Regions from separate parts of the Homo sapiens genome. Here region 1 is linked to region 2. Evidence: promoter capture Hi-C in human tissues and cell types (Jung and others, 2019). All regions are on one chromosome and are shown on one strand. Each heading gives the region's core, a stretch centred on a gene start or on the middle of the fragment in contact. The rest is flanking DNA. Distances are from core to core; before and after follow the strand shown. Region 1 overlaps LOC105375723 (a long non-coding RNA gene). Region 2 holds the start of TNFRSF11B (TNF receptor superfamily member 11b).

Evidence for each region. The method cuts DNA at HindIII sites, captures the fragments that hold promoters and counts their contacts. A contact is called where the count stands out against the background at its distance.
Region 1: a fragment that was not itself captured here is called in contact with the fragment with the promoter of TNFRSF11B in region 2 in 2 of the 25 tissues and cell types used here (lymphoblastoid cells and mesenchymal stem cells).

Annotation. Positions count from the first base shown.
Region 1 is chr8:118,844,657-118,849,606 of GRCh38, reverse strand. All of the region lies in intron 1 of LOC105375723 (a long non-coding RNA gene), which reads left to right. Among named protein-coding and RNA genes, the nearest start is that of TNFRSF11B, 100 kb to the left of the region's middle. The HindIII fragment of the contact is 4,724 bases long and covers 1,022-4,950 here.
Region 2 is chr8:118,948,335-118,953,881 of GRCh38, reverse strand. TNFRSF11B (TNF receptor superfamily member 11b) reads left to right here and starts at 1,997. Exons shown (of 5, transcript NM_002546.4): 1 at 1,997-2,090. The coding sequence starts at 2,061. It also overlaps a transcript of COLEC10 not described here. The HindIII fragment of the contact is 2,925 bases long and covers 1-2,356 here.

The DNA.
Region 1 (4,950 bases), core at 2,134-4,633, 110 kb after region 2:
GGGGGTGTCATTTTCACTGTTGTGCTAATAATGATCCTGGAAAAGCCATCTTTTAAAAAAAATTAATAAATGTCCCCAATGCATATGATGACTTTTAAGATGAGGTAAATAACAACAAAAAGACACAGACTTTCTTCTGAGTAGCAAAGAAATGCAGAAGAGTCAAATTTCAGAGAAGCAGAAACACAGACGGGAGGGAATATGGAATGCTACCACACATAATAGATTCAGGTAGCTTCAGGATAATATTTTCGTTAAAAAATATTCATTACACATGCCGGGAGACCTAAAAACCATTGCTCTTTGGCCAAAGACAGCACAGGAAGAAGGTTGGGTTTCATACCAATCCATTTCCCTATGAACATAGAGATAGATAATAAAAATAAACAGTAAAAAAATACCCATCATGTTTTAGGCACTCAGAAAAAAACAGTGTGTGAGGGGCCCTACTCCTTCTAATAGCTTAGAGGGGGAAAATATGTAAAATGAGACAACTGGATTTTATATTACCAGTAAAGGGAGGGAAGAGGTTTTGGAGCAGCAGTGTTCACCTTACTCATAATTGCCACAAATAGAAAGTCCATGTGTTGAACATCGTGGTGGGTAGGAGAATGGGCTTTGGGGTATGCAGGCCAAGGCTTCACTTCAGAGCCTGCTGCTCACTTACTTAAGACAAGTTTATTAATGCTTCTAAACCTCATCTTTTGACTTGTAAAATGGAGATAATAATAGTACCTATCTCATCAGATGTAGGTTTTTCTGTTATTATGTTCAATTACTGTTGTGATAAAATCATTGGTACCTCATAGTGCTTTTGTAAGGATTGAATTAAATAATATATATGCAGTGTCTTGTACATAGATGCTCAGTAAATTTTTGTTGTTATGGCTATAATGTCTTAGTGCCATGTATCAGGATTAAAAGCTAAACAAGTTCAGGACACTATTTCTTATTTTTATTTTTATTAACAGGAAGAGAGTCCTCTTATTTGCCTCTGTCCCTTCACCACTGTCAACACTATGCCTGTTTAACATTTTGTCATAAAATATGGACTAATCTGGTTTCAAGACAGCAAAGATGACCTAAGCCTCATTTTCTCCAAACACTTTTCTGACAGCAGCTTCCAAGAGACAACAAAGAACAAAGGTAGCAAAGAAAACAGGCATGAATAGAATTTACAAAGAAAGAGTTTGCTCAATATAAGGAAGATCTCTCTAATAACCAGAGCTTTCAAAATACAGAATGGGCAGCCACAAACTGGTAGAATCTTATGGTTGAGAAGGACTTCAGAAGATATTTCTTCAGTTGTCCTCTAGGGTTTGAATTCTTTTTACACAACTTCATTTCTTCCTACATCATCCTCATTCTACTGCCTTCTCAATTGATAGAAAACCCACTCACTCCCCAAGGATGCCGTCTCATTTTGAGAAAGATTTTCAGGTTTGGCAAACATTTTTCGTAAAGGGTCAGATAGCAAATAGTTTTGACTTTGTGGGCCATGGACAGTCTCCACTGCAACTTCTATTGCTGCTACTTCATCAAAAACACTTTAAAAGTATAAAAACCATGCCTCACTAACAGTCCATACAACAACAGGCCGTGGGCAAAATCCCACCTGACAGAGTTTGCTAACTTCTACTCCAAACTGTGATAATTCTTCCCAATATTAAGTGAAAAGCTAACCACTATTGGCTTAATACTTAATGCCTCTTAATTTTAAGGCAAAACGTAACCCCTCTAAATGTTTCCAACTCTTAGTCCTCATTAAGTATAAGCAAATATAGTATAATGTATCCTTAAACTTCTACTACAAGTTTATTATTGTAACAACTCTTTGAGATATATGCAGTGATTTTCACAATTTCCAGACAGGAAAATGGAAACCTAAAGATGTTAGGTAAGTTACTCAAAGCTACATAATTAGTTGGCTGGGGTGGGGTGGGATAGGATGCAGGATACACAACCTAGATCTTCAAGAAGCTCTTTCTACTCTGAGGTTCCATGTCCACCGCCAGGGAAACACGAAGACATCACAGCCCTCTTATGATGGCAAATCCCAAAACAGCTGCCAAAACTCACAAAATATTCTCTTCTCCATGTTAAATATCATCTGTTTCCTGTTGCTCAAATAACCACCATAGTGTTCCTTCTCCTTTAAGTAGGGGTTTTCAAGTGTGTTCCCTCCTTAGTAGCTGCAGCCAGTATTGATCTTTCTTCTTCTTAATGATAAATATATTTTTGCTCCATACCTAGGATATAGGATATGGATTTACGGAGACAGTCATTTGGGTATAGGTTTATAATAATTATTCAATTCTATCTGACTGCCTTTTTAATGTGCAAGGCACATATATTCAAAGCTTATTGTGTTGAGTCTTTTTTTTTTTTTTTTTTTTTTTTTTTGAGACGGAGTCTCGCTCTGTCGCCCAGGCTGGAGTGCAGTGGCACGACGTCTGCTAACTGCAAGCTCCGCCTCCCGGGTTCACGCCATTTTACTGCCTCAGCCTCCCGAATAGCTGGGACTACAGGCGCCTGCCACCGCGCCCGGCTAATTTTTTTGTATTTTTAGTAGAGACAGGGTTTCACTGTGTTAGCCAGGATGGTCTCGATATCCTGACCTCGTGATCCGCCTGCCTCGGCCTCCCAAAGTGCTGGGATTTCAGGCGTGAGCCACCGCGCCCGGCCTGTGTTCAGTCTTAATTGTTGTGTTTTGCCTGTGTAAATTTTTTATCCCCTAAATTAATGTAAATTCTTTTAGAGGTACAATGGGAAAAAACAAAACCACCTTCTAATTATGAACAATTACTCAAAAGATGGATAATAGATCCTTAAATTTCCACCATTTCCAAACCAAAAAAATCTGGAGAATGCCATGCATGGTAGGCAGCCTCTGAGATACCCCCTAGGGATCCCCAATTCTCAGCACATTGCTGACTCATGCCGTTGTGTAATCCTCTCTCTTTTAGTATGGGCTGGACCTTAGTGATGGCTTTTCACAAATAAAATAGGGACAACATGACGTGATGTCACTTCCAAGACTGGTTACAAAAAGACTTGCTGGCTGTCTTGTCTCTGTCTCTGTCTTTCTCTCTTCTATTTTTTCCTCACTTGTTCTGACGGAGCCAACTGTCCTGATGTGAGCTTCCCTGTGGAAAGGTCCACAGCATGAAATTGAGGCCGGCATCTGGCCAAAACCTAGCAAGGAACAGAGGCCGCTAGTCCAACAGCCTGCAAGAAAATGAATCCTGCCAACACCCACATGAGCGAGCTTAGAAAGGGACTCCTTCTAAGTCAAGCTTTGACACAACAGCAGCTCCTGACACCTTGAGCAGAGCCTTGTGCAAAATGCTAAGTTGAAGTCTAGGCCATGTCTTGATTGTTGACTCTCAAAAACTGTAAGACTAAGAAATGATTGTTGGTTGAAGTCGCTATGTTTCAGCCATTTGTTACACAGCAATAGGTAGCTAATATGATAAGTATTTTGTCTTACCAAAAGGTAATGAGACTGCTTGGTGGGCAACAAGATTCCTTTTGGGGAGAAGATGTGGTAGAACAAGATAAAGATATGGTTCCACAATCTTGTGAATGTACTACATAACATTGAACTGTAAATTTTAAAGTGATTAATTTTATGTTCTATGAATTTCACCTCAATAATTTTTTAAAGGAAGCAGCACAAGACATAAACAAAGAAGGAAGGAAAAAAATAAGAAGATAAAGGAAAAAACAAAAGTTTACTTAAGAACGCCTTCAAGAAAACAATCCATCACAATAAATGAAAACTATGATCAAAATTCAGCACCAAGTTACTTAACCTAATGAATCTATCAACTTACAAATGTGAGCAAATGTAGAGAGCCCAGGGCTCAGTAAGGAGAGAACAAGATGACAAAAGGAGCTGAAATGTGTGTCACAGCACTCAGTAAATGAAGCAGAAACTATAAAAATGTTTTACTGTGAGAAAAGAAAATAAGACAAGGGACATAAAGTAGCTGTTTCTCAATAAATAATTCTAAAACAATTTAACCCTTTAAATTATGTGAGTATATAATTTGATTCAAAAGTAAAACATTAAATAGCAAAAATAAGATAATGAAGGTATTTTGATTTTAAAATCTCAATAAACTGCAGGTAGATTCTGAACTTGTTTTTTTGTTGTTCTTTAATGTACCAAAGGCCACTAAGGTACAATCTGAAATCAATAATTCAATTAACAAACAGAAACCAGAACTTCTGCTTGTAATAAGGTAAGGTGTTATATTTAGTATGGGAAGAGACAATTGTTTAAATTATTTTACAATTAGGAAATTATGTATTTGTCATGCAACATATTTAGACTATACTGTGTCTGAGACTTCATGTTTGCTTCTAGGAAATGTATATGGTCTTGTACTTAATGTCAAAGCCAGCCACCCTCTCGCCGTCCCTCTTGTTGTTCTTTTAGATCAGTGGTTCTTTTTTTTTTTTTTGAGACGGAGTCTTGCTCTGTCCCCCAGACTGGAGTGCAGTGGCGTGATCTTAGCTCACTGCAAGCTCCGCCTCCCGGGTTCACGCTATTCTCCTGCCTCAGCCTCCTGAGTAGCTGGGACTACAGGTGCCCGCCACCAGCTAATTTTTTGTATTTTTAGTAGAGATGGGGTTTCACCGTGTTAGCCAGGATGGTCTCGATCTCCTGACCTCGTGATCTGCCCGCCTCGGCCTCCCAAAGTACTGGGATTACAGGCGTGAGCCAGCGCACCCGGCCAGAACAGTGGTTCTTAACTGTGGCCTGGGGGGCTTAAAAAATTCATGGTTCTACCCTCAGAAATTCTGATTTGGTTGGCTTGAAATGTGGCCTGGGCATTGGATAGGAATTGACCTTTGTTCTAAACAGAATGGAGAAATAGAACAAGCCTGTGTTTCAGATTAGAAAATGCCAGAATTTAGGAAATGCATTGCTGAGGATTACTC
Region 2 (5,547 bases), core at 748-3,247:
AAAAAATGGAAACAAAAATAGGTTAGGCAACTAGTCTGAGGTCACAGAGCTAGGAAAAATTGGAGTTGGGGCTCAAATCTAGGTTACAAAGGCCAGTATCTTAGGTATTCCCCTAGAATAATCATAACTATAGGAAATATTTCCTATGGGCCAGGCATTGTGCTGAGTTATTTTACATGCATTACTTTATTTAATGCTCATAATTAGTGATTACCATCATTTATATAATTGTTTTTTAAACGCTCCCATTTGCTTTCTCTTACGTTTCTGCAATATCAGTGTGTTTTTATCTTATAGATGAGGCTCAGGGAGACGTAAACCTTTCCCAGGGTTAACACTGAAGGACTCAGTTATTGATTAGTTTTCTCCAAGGTCTGACACCCACATATTGGCATCATTTTATGTTCTGAGAAAAACACCTTCAAATAATATCCTAGACAAACATTACTCTAACAAAAACAATAATACTGCTATTTATATTGTGTTTCACTACTAACACTTGGATTGACTTGAGTCCCATGGCAAGTCTAAGTGTTGATATCTCAGGTTGCAGATGTCAAAACTACGATTCAAAATACAAGGAGTGATTTGGAGTCATACAATTTTGTCCACACTCACTGAGCTACATTTATTCACTAGTTCACTTAAGAAACCAGCATGCTGTTACATTCTGGCCCTTGAGGGACAAAGCTGAATGACACCCCGTCTTCTGTAATTTGCAGGATGGAACAGTCTGTGGATCCACTTTGAACTCGTGGTGGAAGGATGTCCCTTGGAAGGGGCAGATGCTCTGATCCTGGTAAGCCATCCTTGCTCCCCAGGGGTCCCCTCTCCTGATTCTTCACCTTCCTTCCCTTGAATCTGGTGAAAGGCAGTATTTGCCCTTCTCTGGAGACATATAACTTGAACACTTGGCCCTGATGGGGAAGCAGCTCTGCAGGGACTTTTTCAGCCATCTGTAAACAATTTCAGTGGCAACCCGCGAACTGTAATCCATGAATGGGACCACACTTTACAAGTCATCAAGTCTAACTTCTAGACCAGGGAATTAATGGGGGAGACAGCGAACCCTAGAGCAAAGTGCCAAACTTCTGTCGATAGCTTGAGGCTAGTGGAAAGACCTCGAGGAGGCTACTCCAGAAGTTCAGCGCGTAGGAAGCTCCGATACCAATAGCCCTTTGATGATGGTGGGGTTGGTGAAGGGAACAGTGCTCCGCAAGGTTATCCCTGCCCCAGGCAGTCCAATTTTCACTCTGCAGATTCTCTCTGGCTCTAACTACCCCAGATAACAAGGAGTGAATGCAGAATAGCACGGGCTTTAGGGCCAATCAGACATTAGTTAGAAAAATTCCTACTACATGGTTTATGTAAACTTGAAGATGAATGATTGCGAACTCCCCGAAAAGGGCTCAGACAATGCCATGCATAAAGAGGGGCCCTGTAATTTGAGGTTTCAGAACCCGAAGTGAAGGGGTCAGGCAGCCGGGTACGGCGGAAACTCACAGCTTTCGCCCAGCGAGAGGACAAAGGTCTGGGACACACTCCAACTGCGTCCGGATCTTGGCTGGATCGGACTCTCAGGGTGGAGGAGACACAAGCACAGCAGCTGCCCAGCGTGTGCCCAGCCCTCCCACCGCTGGTCCCGGCTGCCAGGAGGCTGGCCGCTGGCGGGAAGGGGCCGGGAAACCTCAGAGCCCCGCGGAGACAGCAGCCGCCTTGTTCCTCAGCCCGGTGGCTTTTTTTTCCCCTGCTCTCCCAGGGGCCAGACACCACCGCCCCACCCCTCACGCCCCACCTCCCTGGGGGATCCTTTCCGCCCCAGCCCTGAAAGCGTTAACCCTGGAGCTTTCTGCACACCCCCCGACCGCTCCCGCCCAAGCTTCCTAAAAAAGAAAGGTGCAAAGTTTGGTCCAGGATAGAAAAATGACTGATCAAAGGCAGGCGATACTTCCTGTTGCCGGGACGCTATATATAACGTGATGAGCGCACGGGCTGCGGAGACGCACCGGAGCGCTCGCCCAGCCGCCGCCTCCAAGCCCCTGAGGTTTCCGGGGACCACAATGAACAACTTGCTGTGCTGCGCGCTCGTGGTAAGTCCCTGGGCCAGCCGACGGGTGCCCGGCGCCTGGGGAGGCTGCTGCCACCTGGTCTCCCAACCTCCCAGCGGACCGGCGGGGAGAAGGCTCCACTCGCTCCCTCCCAGGAGAGGCTTGGGGTTAGGCTGGAGCAGGAAACCGCTTTCAAGTTATGCCATGCTTCCCCTAGGGTGTCCTTTTACGCTGCAAAGTTCCTGCTGACTTTATGGAAGACAGCAAGAGAGAGACAGACAGCGAGAGAGAGGGAGAGAGAGAGAGAGAGAGAAACTTGTTTGAAAGTTTTAGTCATTAACCTTCTGTCTTCATCTCAGAATATTAACGCCCTCATGTAGTCCATACTATCTTTGCTTAATGAACTTGAACTTTTATTATTAGTGGCAAAGAAGTGGTCCCTTAGATTCAGAGTAAGTTGGAAGAAGACGTTAGTCTTCTTAAAACCATTATAATTAGAATATGACATGATAGATTTTTCTAATGTAAATATTATGTGAAATTTTGAATAATTAGGAGAAAAGATCTCTCACACACACACTTCTTAACTGTGTAATGTTTTAATAAAATTTTATTGTTAAAATTATTTCACTTCTCAACTTCAATATACTGTGGAGAATATTGGCAGTATGTTATGTTCTAAAACATATCTAAAGAATTGAAGTTCACTAAATAGGGCTAAAAATTGTGTTTAAAATGTTATTTGGAAAAGAAAGGAATCTCTGTGACTTAGCTTTTTTTTTAAGCTTAGGTTTTGATCAAGTTAATAAGATTTGCATGTAGGTTTTTCTATGACCAATGACTTATTTTCTCTATGACACTAGAGTGTAGAGTACATCAAGATATGAATCAGACATTTATGCAAGGCTAGGAAAAGCCATATTTAAGCCACATATGTGTTTTGGATGTGTTTGAGTAAATGTTTGAACTTCAACCTCCAACCCACAAATAATGAATAGAAGGCTAGGTAGTCTTCTACTTAGTTCCTAGGATACAGAAACATAAATAAGTAAATAAATAGTAAAGACACTAAAGAACAGGTAAGTTGGATAGGAATCTACCCATAAGTATGTTAAAATATATATGTATGTATGTGTGTGTGTGTATAACTTCATCGCTAGAGATACTATGGAGTGCTTTTAAAAAAGTAAACCTTTATTAAAATATAACACATAGAGAATTGTGCAAGTGGTAAGTGCCTAATGCAGTTTTTCTAAGTGAGCACTTGTGAGCTAGCACACAGATCAAGAAATATATTATCGGCACCTCAAGAGCTTCCATCACTACTGTGTCTATGGCCAGAACAATCAGTATTCTGATTTGAACAACATAGATGAATTTTGCTTGTATTTGAACTTCCTATAAATGGAACTTATTCAATTTTTTGCATTTGACTTCTTTCACTGAAAGTTCTGTTGTGAGATTCATCTCTACTGTAGGATATAGAATAATTTGTCCGTTGTCATTGCTGTATGGTATTCCATTGTATGGACACACCACAATTGATTTAATCATCCTAGTTTTGGGCTAGTATAAATAATGCTGCCGTTAATATGGGGACATTTTTATTCTTCCTAGCCCTTTTTATTTTGTCAAAGATTTAATTAATAACAAACATACTAGCAATGAGTTAAATTTCAGGGTTTCCACTAAATAATATATGTTTCTATTTAGAAGTATCCATAAATTTAAATAGTAAAATATTTTTATATGTGGTCTGTACAGGAAGATAGACAAACATGTAGATAATACTAATTTTAGATGATACAGCATTATCAGAAGATAAGACTTCGTATATGTCTTGAACACAGTAAATACTTTATATAGGAAGAATTTTGCTTCCCCTTTCTTTAGCTTCTGAGACTTACTTTATTTTGAAAATGATTGCAAATGGACACTTTGTATTTACACATAGAGTCCAGATGCCCTTTTGTAAAACCAAGGTGCCACTGTAGGAACTAGAAGCACCACAGATATTTATTTCTTTATAATGGGCATTCCACTGGCACTAGGCATCAGGACAGTGTGAAAAGCAAGATAGACACTATTCCTTTCACCATGGACCCATAGTCTAATGGAGAAAGCAGATATTGGGCAAGTAATTGTGTATATAGAGTTGCAAAGAAAGAAACTACTGGGTGACTTGGGAATATAAAAGATTCTGCCATATAGCACCTTATAAGGGAAGCTGCTAGTGCAGTGTTATCATGTGGACCAAAAATCAAATACCAGTACCACCACTTACCTGAGAAATGACTGTGGCCAAGTTACTTCTTGAGTTTTAGTTTTGTCTTCTATAAAATGATAATAATGATATGCATATATCCAAGATGCCCACATAAAGTTTCTGCTTCATATCAACACTAGCTCCTAGCATGATGCTCACAGATAACTAACTTTAGGACAATCTAGATCCAAGTGAATTATGTAAACGAAGTGCTGATGATACTCAGAGGAGGGAGAGATGGCCATCTACCGTCATCCTGGAGGAGGGGTATGACGTTTCATTGTTGGAGATTTAAAATCAGGCATCTTGGACCAAAGAAGTGAGAGAAGGCAAGATTGTGTAGCAAAATAGAATTCTAGATTCTTTTTGTGAGTGCAAAGGGTATGCTGGTAGGCAAGCAGGGAAGGAGGTAGGGATGGGATGTTGTCATTAGTACTAATGTCATAGACATGGGCTTTCCTGGAATGTTCCTTAATGCAGTTAAGCAGAGGCCTGCTCTGCTTCACTCAGGCTTAGGTTTTAACTGATGGCTGAAACTTCCCATCAAGTAGTATCGGAACCATCCATTGAACTTCTCAAAGCTAAGTTCTGAATTAATGTTATGATACTAGGAGTTGGGGTGGAGAAGTGGGCAGGGAGGGGTAGATTTATTTTTTTCTCAGGAAAAATGTCTGGTCTGTCTGTTTTCCTGTAGAATAATGCCTTTGGGGGCTTTTTGTTGTTTTATTGTTATTTTGGTTTCCTCTCCCTCCCCCTAGTGGTTAAGTTTTTTTTTGTTTGTTTGTTTGTTTTTTTGTTGTTTTGTTTTAAGAGAATGAATACTCTGAAGTTTCTAGGAAAATCTGACATACCCTCAATCCAAAACAGTCCTGATCCCTGTCCGTAGCAACGTTCCTGGCCCGGGTCACCTAGCAACCTCCAGCACAATTTCTAATTTCAATCTAGTTTCAAATTTTACTTAAGCTGAAACTACAGCTGTGAAATTCCACTGATTGAGGAAGTAAGCGTTCTGCACCAGATGGTTTATCCGGTTAGTTCTAGAAGGAGAGCTATGGCAGTGCTGATCAAAAGGAACTAAACACACACTCAGGTATTTTTGCTCTCCTAGCCACTAACTTGCCTGCTGGGTTTTGCTCTTGGCAACCGTCAGCCCCCCACTGCTGGCATGTTCCATTTGTGTGAAAGCTTTTTGTAAAAAGCATTATTTTCTCTAGCATCTCATTAACCGATAGC